Linked DNA regions of Homo sapiens: regions 2, 3 and 4 are each linked to region 1. The links are contacts of gene promoters, found by promoter capture Hi-C in blood cells and fetal thymus (Javierre and others, 2016). All regions are on one chromosome and are shown on one strand. The core of a region is centred on a gene start or on the middle of the fragment in contact, and the rest is flanking DNA. Distances in the headings are between cores, read along the strand shown. Region 1 holds the start of CYB561 (cytochrome b561). Region 2 overlaps SMARCD2 (SWI/SNF related BAF chromatin remodeling complex subunit D2). Region 3 overlaps DDX42 (DEAD-box helicase 42). Region 4 overlaps TANC2 (tetratricopeptide repeat, ankyrin repeat and coiled-coil containing 2).

Evidence for each region. The method cuts DNA at HindIII sites, captures the fragments that hold promoters and counts their contacts. A CHiCAGO score of 5 or more calls a contact.
Region 2: a contact is called between a fragment that was not itself captured here and the fragment with the promoter of CYB561 in region 1, in 1 of 17 cell types (naive B cells). The highest score is 5.2, in naive B cells.
Region 3: a fragment that was not itself captured here is called in contact with the fragment with the promoter of CYB561 in region 1 in 1 of 17 cell types (naive B cells); the score reaches 5.2 in naive B cells.
Region 4: a contact is called between a fragment that was not itself captured here and the fragment with the promoter of CYB561 in region 1, in 1 of 17 cell types (M1 macrophages). The highest score is 5.5, in M1 macrophages.

The regions. Positions count from the first base shown.
Region 1 is chr17:63,444,906-63,447,638 of GRCh38, reverse strand. CYB561 (cytochrome b561) reads left to right here and starts at 1,333. Exons shown (of 6, transcript NM_001915.4): 1 at 1,333-1,394. RefSeq lists enhancers at 437-576, 1-747 and silencers at 717-906, 1,077-1,636. The HindIII fragment of the contact is 2,186 bases long and covers 76-2,261 here.
Region 2 is chr17:63,833,223-63,835,955 of GRCh38, reverse strand. It overlaps SMARCD2 (SWI/SNF related BAF chromatin remodeling complex subunit D2), which reads left to right. Exons shown (of 13, transcript NM_001098426.2): 5 at 389-544; 6 at 1,156-1,251; 7 at 1,381-1,482; 8 at 1,628-1,789; 9 at 1,950-2,047; 10 at 2,234-2,369; 11 at 2,536-2,658. Among named protein-coding and RNA genes, the nearest start is that of FTSJ3, 6.9 kb to the right of the region's middle. RefSeq lists an enhancer at 754-913. The HindIII fragment of the contact is 2,098 bases long and covers 403-2,500 here.
Region 3 is chr17:63,815,368-63,818,100 of GRCh38, reverse strand. DDX42 (DEAD-box helicase 42) reads right to left here. Exons shown (of 18, transcript NM_203499.3): 16 at 2,428-2,538; 17 at 1,135-1,233; 18 at 1-407. Among named protein-coding and RNA genes, the nearest start is that of PSMC5, 11 kb to the left of the region's middle. The HindIII fragment of the contact is 2,959 bases long and covers 1-2,733 here.
Region 4 is chr17:63,076,334-63,079,066 of GRCh38, reverse strand. The region is part of intron 3 of TANC2 (tetratricopeptide repeat, ankyrin repeat and coiled-coil containing 2); the gene reads right to left. Among named protein-coding and RNA genes, the nearest start is that of TANC2, 110 kb to the right of the region's middle. The HindIII fragment of the contact is 1,715 bases long and covers 551-2,265 here.

The DNA.
Region 1 (2,733 bases), core at 84-2,583:
TACTTTAAATTATCCATTAATTTCCTCCAACTGAAAGATACTCTACAAATTTTCTGTTGTTGGAGGGTTTAAGCTTGGTCCCTCTGAGGGGGTGGGCCCTGCTGTGTCGGCCCCTTGTGTCTGCTCGTGGAAGGTGTGCCATGTGCCACCGTGTGCCATATGCAGCTGACACGCCTGTGCGTCTCGCCTGGCGCTGGAGACTGCTCTCTGTGTACTAAGCGAGTACTGGATCCCCAGGGCCTATCTTGCCCACTGCCTGTGGCAATACACAGGCAATACACAAAGCGCATTCAAGTAAGCAGGTCTCCCTGCCCCCCGGCCTCCCAGAACCTCGGTGCCTGGAGGGCAGGTGGGGGAGGGCGTTCCTGAATGGAGGCCGGTTTCCCTCTGCGGGGAGGAAACCCCATTTCCCTCCTACCCCTAGGCGCTTGCTACATCTGGCCCGGCATCAGACAGGAAAGAACCCTTTCTTCCCAGCTTGTAGGAAGTCTGAGCTGGGCCCCTTATCTACCCACAGCACTTCCTGGACCGGGGGCCTGGACCGGGCTCCGAAGGGGCTGGCTCCCGGTCTTGGTCTTGGCCTCGGCGCCCTCGTTTCTCTGCGCTTTGGGCAGGGGAAGCTGCGGACGGCAAGCTCTCGGCTTTCGTGAGAGCCTGGTGGAATCGGTGTTCCCCGAAGGCTACTCTGCGGGGGCGGGGGCTAGTCCGGGCCTTCCCGGCAGTATCGTCTCCCCCGTGGGGGCTGGGGAGGTGCCCCCAGGGCTCCCGGAGCGGCGGCGTGGCCAAGGCCCGAACCGGGTCTGACATCTAGTGGCCTCCTGGGCCCGGGCAGGGCGAGGGCGGGGCAGGGAAGAAGGTGGAGGGCAGAATGGGAGGCGTGGAGCGAGAAAATCAGGAAGCGCGGGACCAAGCCGGGGAAGGGCGGCGGGTCTCGCCCCTGGCACCCGCTCTCCTCGGGGCCCGTCCCATCCCCCAGGCCTGGCCGACCCCAGGTCCTTCCGTGCGCAGTCGGGGCTCGCAAGGACGAATCCCGCGGCCCTCGAGGCAGGCCCGGGGGAGCTCCCGGCCCTCCACCCCCGCAGGCCGCAGATCCCACGCACCCCCGATCATGGGGGCCCCGGAGGGAGGTCGCGAGGCCGGGCTCACGGTGGCCGCGGTTCGCCCACGTGCGGGCCCGGAGCTGGCAGGGCCCGGTCCCGAGCGTGGCCGCAACCGCGGGGACCTGGCACGTGCGGGGCAGCCCCGGGGGCCGCGTACGCCACTTCCGGTCCCGGAGACACCGCCCAGCCCGCCGCCCGGTTGCCATGGCGACGCCGTCGCGCCACGGCCCGCAGAACCGGCCAAGCGACCCGGGCGCGGCGCGGGGAGGCTGAAGGGACGCTCGGGTAGGCAAGGTAGGAGGCCGGGCTGGGGGTGGGAGCGGAGCGCGCAGGGGTGCGGGGCGGGGGCGGCCCAGGTGAGCCCTGACTGCGCAGGGAGGGACAGCGCGGGGCTCCCGAGTAGCAGCCGGCCTCGCACCTGCCCCTTGCGGCCGCGCACTGGACTGCGGCGCCGACCCGCACCCTGGGCCCGAGGGCTGCAGGGCTCGCCCGCCCTCTCGGAGCCGAGCCTCTCCCGGTCCAGGCGGCCCCTGCCCTGGCCTGCCCGGGTGCCGGGTCTCTGCTGAAGTTAGAACCGAGACCCCCGCTTGCTGGTGACCCCGAGTTTGGATCTTTGCTCCTGCGCCGCGTTCTAGAGCAAGGTAGGGTGCAAATGGACCAACCAGCCTTTGCCACGGCTGCCCTCTTGAAATCTGAAACCGGAGCCACCGCCTCTTGCCCCGAGCAGGGCCCGGGCTGCAACGTGGAGCCGCAGGTCCCCGCCTGTGTCTCCCGACGCCCCCAGCTTCTGAGCGCGAGGGTGGGAGTTTCCCGAGTGGGAAAGCCCCATGGCTTCGGTGGCCTCGGTGGCCCTGTGGTGGGTCAGGCCGGTGCCAACTGCGCTGAGGGCGGAGCTGCCGCCACCTTGACACCTGGGAGATGGCAGGGCCACCCTCCCTCCCTCCCTCCCTGCCCTGTCCCCGACTGTATCACGGAGCGAGGATCATCCGTGTGGATCTGGGGTCCCCTTCCCAGACTTCTCCTTTCTGGTCGTCCTCCTCTCATTCATTCCACCTTGGCAGCCTTTGTGGATTTTCTGACTCCGTAAATGAAGTTACATCTAGGGCGCCTAGATTCTGCCCCTTTGGTTTAATAGCTAATGAAAAAAAAAAAAAAAAAGCTTTGCCACCTCCTCTAGGTGCCTGGATTTCTCCCGGTGAAATTTGATGGAGGCAGGAAAATACGAGGCGGTGGCAGCCCCACCTCCTTGCATGAGGGAGCCTCCTAGAGCTGGAGGTGGAACCACCCTGCTTGTCCCACTCCTTTTCTTTCTTGCTTTATTGCTTTCTTGCTTTCCTTACTTTCCTTCCTTCTTTTTTTTTTGAGATGGAGTCTTGCTCTGTTGCCAGGAGGCTGGAGTGCAGAGGGCAATATCAGCTCACTGCAACCTCCATCTTCCGGGTTCAAGCGATTCTCCTGTTCCAGCCTCCCTAGTAGCTGGGATTACAGGTGTGTGCCACAACACGCAGCTAATTTTTGCATTTTTAGGAGAGACGGGGTTTCACCATGTTGGCCAGGCTGGTCTCGAACTCCTAACCTCAAGTGATCTGCCCGCCTTGGCATCCCAAAGTGCTAGGATTACAGACGTGAGCCA
Region 2 (2,733 bases), core at 202-2,701, 390 kb before region 1:
GGAGTTTGAGACCAGCATGGCCAACATGTTGAAATACCATCTTTACAAAAACACAAAAAATTAGCTGGGCATGGTGGTGCGCACCTGTAGTCCCAGCTACATGGGAGACTGAGGCAAGAGAATCGCTTGAACCTGGGAGTCAGAGGTTGCAAGTGAGCTGAGATCGCGCCACTGCACTCCAGCCTGGGTGACAGAGTGAGACCATGTCTAAAAAAAAAAAAGGCTGGGACTGGGACTTACTACTTCTGATTCCCAGTACCTGACAAGGTGCCTGGCTGGCTCATGGTGCTCAGTACTGATTGTTGAATGGTTCATATGAGAAGATGCGGTAGCACTGTGTCCCAGCATCTTGGTCCACCTCCAGTTGTGATTGCCTTTCTCTCTTTAGCAAAAGCGAAAGCTTCGGATCTACATTTCCAATACGTTCAGTCCCAGCAAGGCGGAAGGCGATAGTGCAGGAACTGCAGGGACCCCTGGGGGAACCCCAGCAGGGGACAAGGTGGCTTCCTGGGAACTCCGAGTGGAAGGAAAACTGCTGGATGATGTGAGTTGGGGAGGGAGGTTCTGGAGGGAAGGAGGCCTGTGTGGGTTTAAGACTGAGACCAAGGAGTTTGATACTAGCCTGAGCAGCAGAGCCAGACCCCATCTCTACAAAAAATTTAAAAATTAGCTGGGTGCGGTGGCATGCACCTGTAGTCCCAGCTACTCATAAGGCTGATGCAGGAGGATGGCTTGAGCCCAGGAGGTCGAGCTTCAGTGAGTTATGATCACACCACTGCACTTCAGCCTGGGTGACAGAGTGAGATTGTGTCTCAGAAAAAAAAAGACTGGGCCAGACACTTGGGCGCTCCCAGAGAAGTCCTGCCATAGGGAGGGGGGCGCTGCTCCAAGCCCGTTGGAGGTTGATTTGTGTGGTTATTACAGTGTTCCTGCAGATGGCAGTCGAGTGTCTCGAGGAAGTCCCTCGTGGGCTGCAAGAGGGCACCATTTCCCTGCCTCCAGTCTGCCCAGAGTCCTGCTTCCATCCTTCAGGGCCCAGGAATCTTCAGTATCCGGAGCTCCAGGGCTGAAATGGGGCTTCTCTTTCTTGGGATTTAGCATAGCTTGAGATTTGAGAGCTCAGCAGCACCATCTCACACCCCTTTCCATCCCCAGCCTAGCAAACAGAAGAGGAAGTTTTCTTCATTCTTTAAGAGCCTCGTCATTGAGCTGGACAAGGAGCTGTACGGGCCTGACAATCACCTGGTGGAGGTGAGAGTGGGCCTGGGGCAAAAGCAGGCTGATGTGCAGGTTTGGCAGGGAAATGGCCTCAGGGCCCTTGGGAGGCCCTGTGTTCACGCCCACCCCCTTGGTGATAAGCCATGCTTCCCTCCCTGCCAGTGGCACCGGATGCCCACCACCCAGGAGACAGATGGCTTCCAAGTAAAACGGCCTGGAGACCTCAACGTCAAGTGCACCCTCCTGCTCATGCTGGATCATCAGGTGACAGAGACCCTGGGGTCATTTCTGGGCCCACAGGGACCCCTCAGGAGGGGAGCTGGTTCCTAGAAACCCTTCCTGTCCCTGCCCTATTTTCCCACTGTTCTACTATAAGAACCCGTTCTGACTCCCCTCCATCCAACTCCAGCCTCCCCAGTACAAATTGGACCCCCGATTGGCAAGGCTGCTGGGAGTGCACACGCAGACGAGGGCCGCCATCATGCAGGCCCTGTGGCTTTACATCAAGCACAACCAGCTGCAGGATGGGCACGAGCGGGAGTACATCAACTGCAACCGTTACTTCCGCCAGGTTAGCCAGATGCCAGCCCCCGTTTTCTCAGCCCTTGCTTTGCCTTGCCTGCTGGGCTACTCCTTGGCCACAGCCTGCAGACTGCTGCCCTCACTGGTCCTGGAATGGTCCACTCCACTGTGCCCACAAGCCAACGCTGAGCCTTTCGTATTTCCTCCAGATCTTCAGTTGTGGCCGACTCCGTTTCTCCGAGATTCCCATGAAGCTGGCAGGGTTGCTGCAGCATCCAGACCCCATTGTCATCAACCATGTCATTAGGTAAATGCAAGGAGGGGGACAGGAAGGCTCTTCTAAGAGCAGATTCACCCTTGGCTTGAACTAAAGCCAAAGAAAGCATCAGGTTTCTTTTTCCCTGAGTGTGTGCAGAGAATGGGCCCCAGATTTGGCCCAGGTGGGCAGGATGAAGTCAGCTATGTGCCTTCCCTCCCCATGTGCTGCCTGCAGTGTCGACCCTAACGACCAGAAGAAGACAGCCTGTTACGACATCGATGTGGAGGTGGACGACCCACTGAAGGCCCAAATGAGCAATTTTCTGGCCTCTACCACCAATCAGCAGGAGATCGCCTCCCTTGATGTCAAGGTGGGCCCTCTGGCTCCACAGCTTCCTCTGGGGCCCAGGATTGGGGTGGGCTGGCTCTGTCCAGCATTTCCATACATGTAGCACCTGGAGGACGGGATGGGAACTCTGGCTCAGTTGCTTGCATGTAAGCTTTGGGGGCACAGTCTGACACAGGTACCCTCTCCAGATCCATGAGACCATTGAGTCCATCAACCAGCTGAAGACCCAGAGAGATTTCATGCTCAGTTTTAGCACCGACCCCCAGGACTTCATCCAGGAATGGCTCCGTTCCCAGCGCCGAGACCTCAAGGTGTAGTCCTCTTTCCCGAGGGGACTCCTATGTAAAGCTCTGGGTGATTTTTACCCACAGCAGTTCCCAGGGTGG
Region 3 (2,733 bases), core at 87-2,586, 370 kb before region 1:
TGGCGACCACCATCTCCGTGACGTGGACTATCGCTATGCCGATTGCCAGTCTCTCCGTGACTGTGACGGCTGCTGCCCCGGTTCTCAGTATATCTCTCTCTTTTCCCGTTGCTGCCCCCAGTCCCTTCTCGGCTGTTATTCCCTGAAGCTGTGTTGTTGACTCCTTGGGCTCCGGCAGACGGGTAGGTCACAGGGGCACCACTGATGTTGCCAGTATTGCCAAAGCCTGGGATGCCCTTGGCGGCACTGGTGACGGGGCTGTCAGGACTGTTATGGCCCTGTTGTGCTGAGTTAGTTGGAACAGAATTCAAGCTCCCTGCACTAGTCCACCCACTTGCCCCAGCAGCAGAACTTCCAGCCTTCTGATTACTTAAACTGGCTGCAACAAAGTGACTCTTGTACTGTGACTGAAAGAGAAAGAGACATCAGGAGTAGGTAAGATAGCAAGTTCAAGAAACTTGAATATACAACTTGGCAAATGATGAGGTTTACAGAAACTCTGTGCTATCCTGGCACTGTGAGTTTAGTGTCCTGATGGCCCCACAGTATGGTCCCTTTTGTTCTTGTGCTATAAAGGAAAACTTGTGGATCTCTGTGGAGAGATGGACCCCCAGTGTTCTGAAATGTACTTTTATAGCCTGATTGGCTAGAATAAAGCATCTATGTATTTAGCACATTTATCTGCATTCAAAACCAAAAAGTTCTGAAAACTTAAAAAAAATTTTCATACTGCAATTTAAGTTTGACAGCAAAACCTGCCTTGAACTCATTCTATCGATTCACCTTAGTGTGACTATCAGTAAATTTTGCTTCAGAAGTGAGTTGGAGGTGGGTGCCTGGGAGGTGGGCAACACTTCAGGCTGTTGGGAAGGGAGGGAACACACACCCTGCTGCAGGACAACAATCCCAGGCCCCAAGTGTGACTCAAAGTAGACCAGCACAAGGGGTTCTCTAGATCAACTTGCATTTCCAACTAAGCTACTGTTAGGTTTATATTCAAAATCCAAGCAGCGTGAAGACCCTAAATCTAGCATCAAGCCTAGGCGCCCAGCTACAACCAGGAAAACTAAGCCCCTCTGTCACTGCCCAAGAGTTACTGCTGAAAGTGCTTTTAATGAAATGCTTATTTCAGACCTGGAAAGCTGCTTTCATTGCCGTTAGTCGATCTCCCATAGCTCCTGTGGAAGGCTTGTAGGCCTCATAATTGCTCATTACATTGTTATTTCCTCGATCCTAAAAAAATAAACACATCTATGAGAATGAAAAAATAAGCAGGAAAGCTCACTGCTATAGACTAGGCCTCATTATGAAAACCCTTGAAGTGGGAGCTACAAAGGAACTGGATACTTTTAGAAAGCTGCTACTGCTTTGTGAGAAAAGACACAGTGACAATCATTTAAAAATGCTTATGCCCTCAACCCAGAAATTCTATTTCTGGAAATTAACCCTATTAAACAGAAATGCAATCAGATTATGCCCAAAGTTGATCATGTATTTACATAAACACTTCCAATTAATTAAGTAAAAATTACGTTAAAGATGAAAAGGCCCTGAATAGCATATTGTGTGACTGCTCAGGCCCTGAATCAAGACCATGAAGGGTCTGAATTTCGGCTTGAACACTTGTCACTGTAACCTTAGGTGCCTCAGCATTGTTATCTGTACTAACTTCCATTCAGTTATTTTGAAGATTAACTGAGCCAAAACATCTGATTGCTTGGAATGGTCCTGGCACATATAAAGTGCTCAATAAATATTACCTATTATTATGCATCATCATCATTATTATTATAATGTGGGAACAGAGTATGTAATTACAAAGATGCCAAGTTTAATGCTCCAGAAAAGTATACTGGCAGCTTTCTTCCCTGGCTTGGAATCAAGGTGACAGAAAACAGGCAGTTAAGAAAGGCCACCAAAAGGGTACATTTGTTACCTGGTTTGTGAGAAAAACTAGCTCCCGACTTGGAAATTCCTGATCCGTTCCTGAGTTTAATGACAAGATATGGCTAGACTTTACAGTGACCCTTTGGCAACATTTACCTAGCAGCAGGCTTTAGGCCAGTGTTGAAGGGCTTATAAAACCAGACTGCTGGGCCCCAACTCCAGAGTTTCTGATTCACAAGGTCTGGGGTTGGGGATGAGTTTGCATGTGCTGCTGGTCCAGGGACCACAGTGTGAGATCACTGCTAATCTAGAATAATTTCCTGAGCAAGCCTAGTCAACCAAGTACACAAAGATGCTTCTTCAATAGAAAGTTACCATAAGAATGAGCACTGCATTGACTCAAATCAGATTAAATACAAATTCCCTTCTAGACAGGGCTTTAAACTCACTGAGGCTTTCCTGGGTAGATGAGAATATTCCTAATGACTTTCAGGACATGAGACCAACTATAAAGGCACTACTGTAGTAGTCTAGACTCACCATGTTCTCAGAGCCCAGGCCAGGCCGCTCCCTGTAGCCTAGGCCTCCTCCACCAATGTTCAGCTTTTTTCCTTTCCCTCCTTTGAATCGAGATTTCCGAAACCAGGCATTCTGCATTGAACAAAATTCAAGGTTAAGTCAAGGGAGGGAGAAAAGAACAGAAGAAGAGAACGAGGACAAAGAGGAAATTAAGTGGGAAGGGGGAACTTTTGCTTAATTTTCAGCCAGCACTACGCTAAGGGAGGAATTTTCACAGGAACCACAGATTGGTTTCTCTTTGGTAGCATAATCCACCAAATTTGAAAA
Region 4 (2,733 bases), core at 159-2,658, 370 kb after region 1:
TTTCTTATCAGAGGACCAGTGGTACAAGGAATGTGACAGAACTGCAAGGAGAAATAGACAAATCCACAGTTATAGCCTGAGATTTCAATATTCCTTGCTGTTCAACAAGTAGAAAGAAAATCGGCAAGAAGATAGAAGACTTAAATAACACTATCAATCAACGTGATCAGGTTGACATTTATAGAACCTTCCACCCTAAAACAGCATAATACACTTTCTTTTAAAGCGCACACAGAACAGTTATTAAAATAGATCATTTCCTGGGCCATAAAACAAGTCTTAACAAATTTAAAATGATTCAACCTACAGAAAGTTTGTCCTCTGATCACAATGAAATTTAAGTAAGAATCAATAAGAGAAAGATATCTGAAAAACTTCCAAATGTTTGGAAACTACATCAACATACTTCTAAATAACACATGGGTCAAAGAAAAAATCAAAAGGGTATTTTTGAACTAAATGAAAATACTACTTATCAGAATCTATGTAACTAACTAAAGCAGTAAACAGAAATTTATAACACTAAATTCCTATATTAGAAGAGAAAGCTTTCATATCAATGACCCCAGATTCTACCTTAAGAAACAAGAAAAAGATAAAATTAAACCCAAAGCAGGCAGAAGAAAGAAAATAATAAAGGACAAAGTATAAATCAATGACATAGAAGACAGGAAAGCAATACAGAAACCAAATACAAAACTGATTCTCTGAGATGTATAAAACTGACAAATCTTTGTCCAAAATGATCAGGACAGTGAGAAAGAATACCCAAATTACCAGTATCAGAAATGAGAATGCTTACATCACTACAGATTATGCAGATATTAAAATGTTTCTCAAGAAGAAACACATAATTTTAATAGTCCTATATTTATTAAATAACTTGAATTCACATTTAAAAACCTTCCAGCAAATAAAATTCCAAGCCCAATTAGCTTCTGAGAAATTGTATCAAACAGTTAAGGATGAAATAATATCAATTCTACACGATGTAGCTTAGGAAACTGAAGAGGAGGAAACTGAAGTTGAAACTTCCAACTTATTCTATGAGGCCAGCATTATTCTGATATTAAAACCAGATAAAGACATTAGAAAACAAGAAAATGAAAAGTCAATATTCCATGTGAATATAGATGCAAAAATAATTTAAATTCTTAGCAAATCAAATACACCAACCATACAAAAACAAAGTCACAGGTCAGACTTGCCCTCCTTTAGAGCATTGTTTCCTATCATAATAGTCCAAATCAAATAAATAATGAAGCTATTTGTACCACATAATTAAGTAAACTGATCACGTTTTCTACTGGAGGTGACTGGCTTGGACATCAACTACTCTGGATTCTGCTAAAGAACTGACGACATTATTCTAACATCTCCTTTCTTACACATTATTTATCTTCCCTGTAGTTCAGAACTTTCTTTTGCTTACTATTTTATGTATTTATCACCATTTCAACCTTGAGACTCTCATCAGTTGTCTAAAACTTTTCTAAAGACAATTAATTGCATCAGGTTTCTACCAATCTCATTTTCCTGAAGACCACTCTTCTGGAGGCTTCTAACCCACTCCAATCTGAACTGCTAGCCCTCTATCCCCTTCTTTTTATTGTCATTCTGAAGGATCTTTCTGCTTTATTGACTTTCCTGTCTCTTGTAATTCATTTCTTTCATTTGGCTGACTTTTTCATTTGATGGATCACATCCTCCAACAGATTCCTTAGAAAGTGTATAAGACAGGCAGATTGTTTTTGAAAATGTATACATCTAATTCTATTCTTATATTTGAATAATAGTATCAATGCATATGGAATTCAGAGATTGAAAATTATTTTCCTTCAGAATACTGAAGATGCTGCTTTATTTTTCAGTTTCCAATGCTACGACTGAGAAGTGCAAAGCCAACTCATTCCCTCCCACCCCCCAGAAGCATGAACGATCTGTTTGGCTCCAGTGATTTCAAATTTCACCACAATGTGCCTTAGTTTGGATCTATTTTCATCCATTGTACTAAGCACAAAGTGAGCCTTTTCAATCAGGAAACTTTATGCTCTTCAGTTAAGAAAATTATCTTGAATCATCTTGATGATTTCTTTTCCATTTTCTCTGGTGTTTCTTTTGACAACTATTATTTGAATACTGAAATTCCTGGACTGATCCTGTGATTTTTCTTAACACTCCTCCTTCGTTTCTTATTTTTGTCCTTTTGCTCTATTTTTTCAGAGTTTCTTTCAGCACATTAGTCTCTGATAATTCTACGAAGCTTTTGGTTTTTACTATCAGAATTTCAATGCCTAAGAGCCTTTTTTAAAGTCATAATATCACTCTTTTATGTACTTCTTTCTTGTTTCATGGTTATTTTCTCTTATTTCTGGGGATAATAGTTCTATAATTTTCCTCTGCAAAAATGTATGTCTCTCCAAGTTGTTTTATTCCATTTAACTTCTATCTTTCATACATTTAGAGAGTTTCTTCAAATATCTACTCATCTTTGTTAGCTGCTCATATTTAAGGGCAGGGGACTGAAAAGCTGATTTGGAGCTTTGATACATGGAGTGAGCTAACTGGCCTGTTTATTTCAGGAATCTCTGATGACTAAATTTCCTCTTTCTTCTTTTATCTTCCTTTTTTTGGTCAGATTCTCCAGAAAAGACTTTTTTTTTCCAACCTCCTGCCTGAAATCTGAAGGTCTAACTGCCAGTATTCTGGGAGCCCAGTAGGAGAAAACAGGAG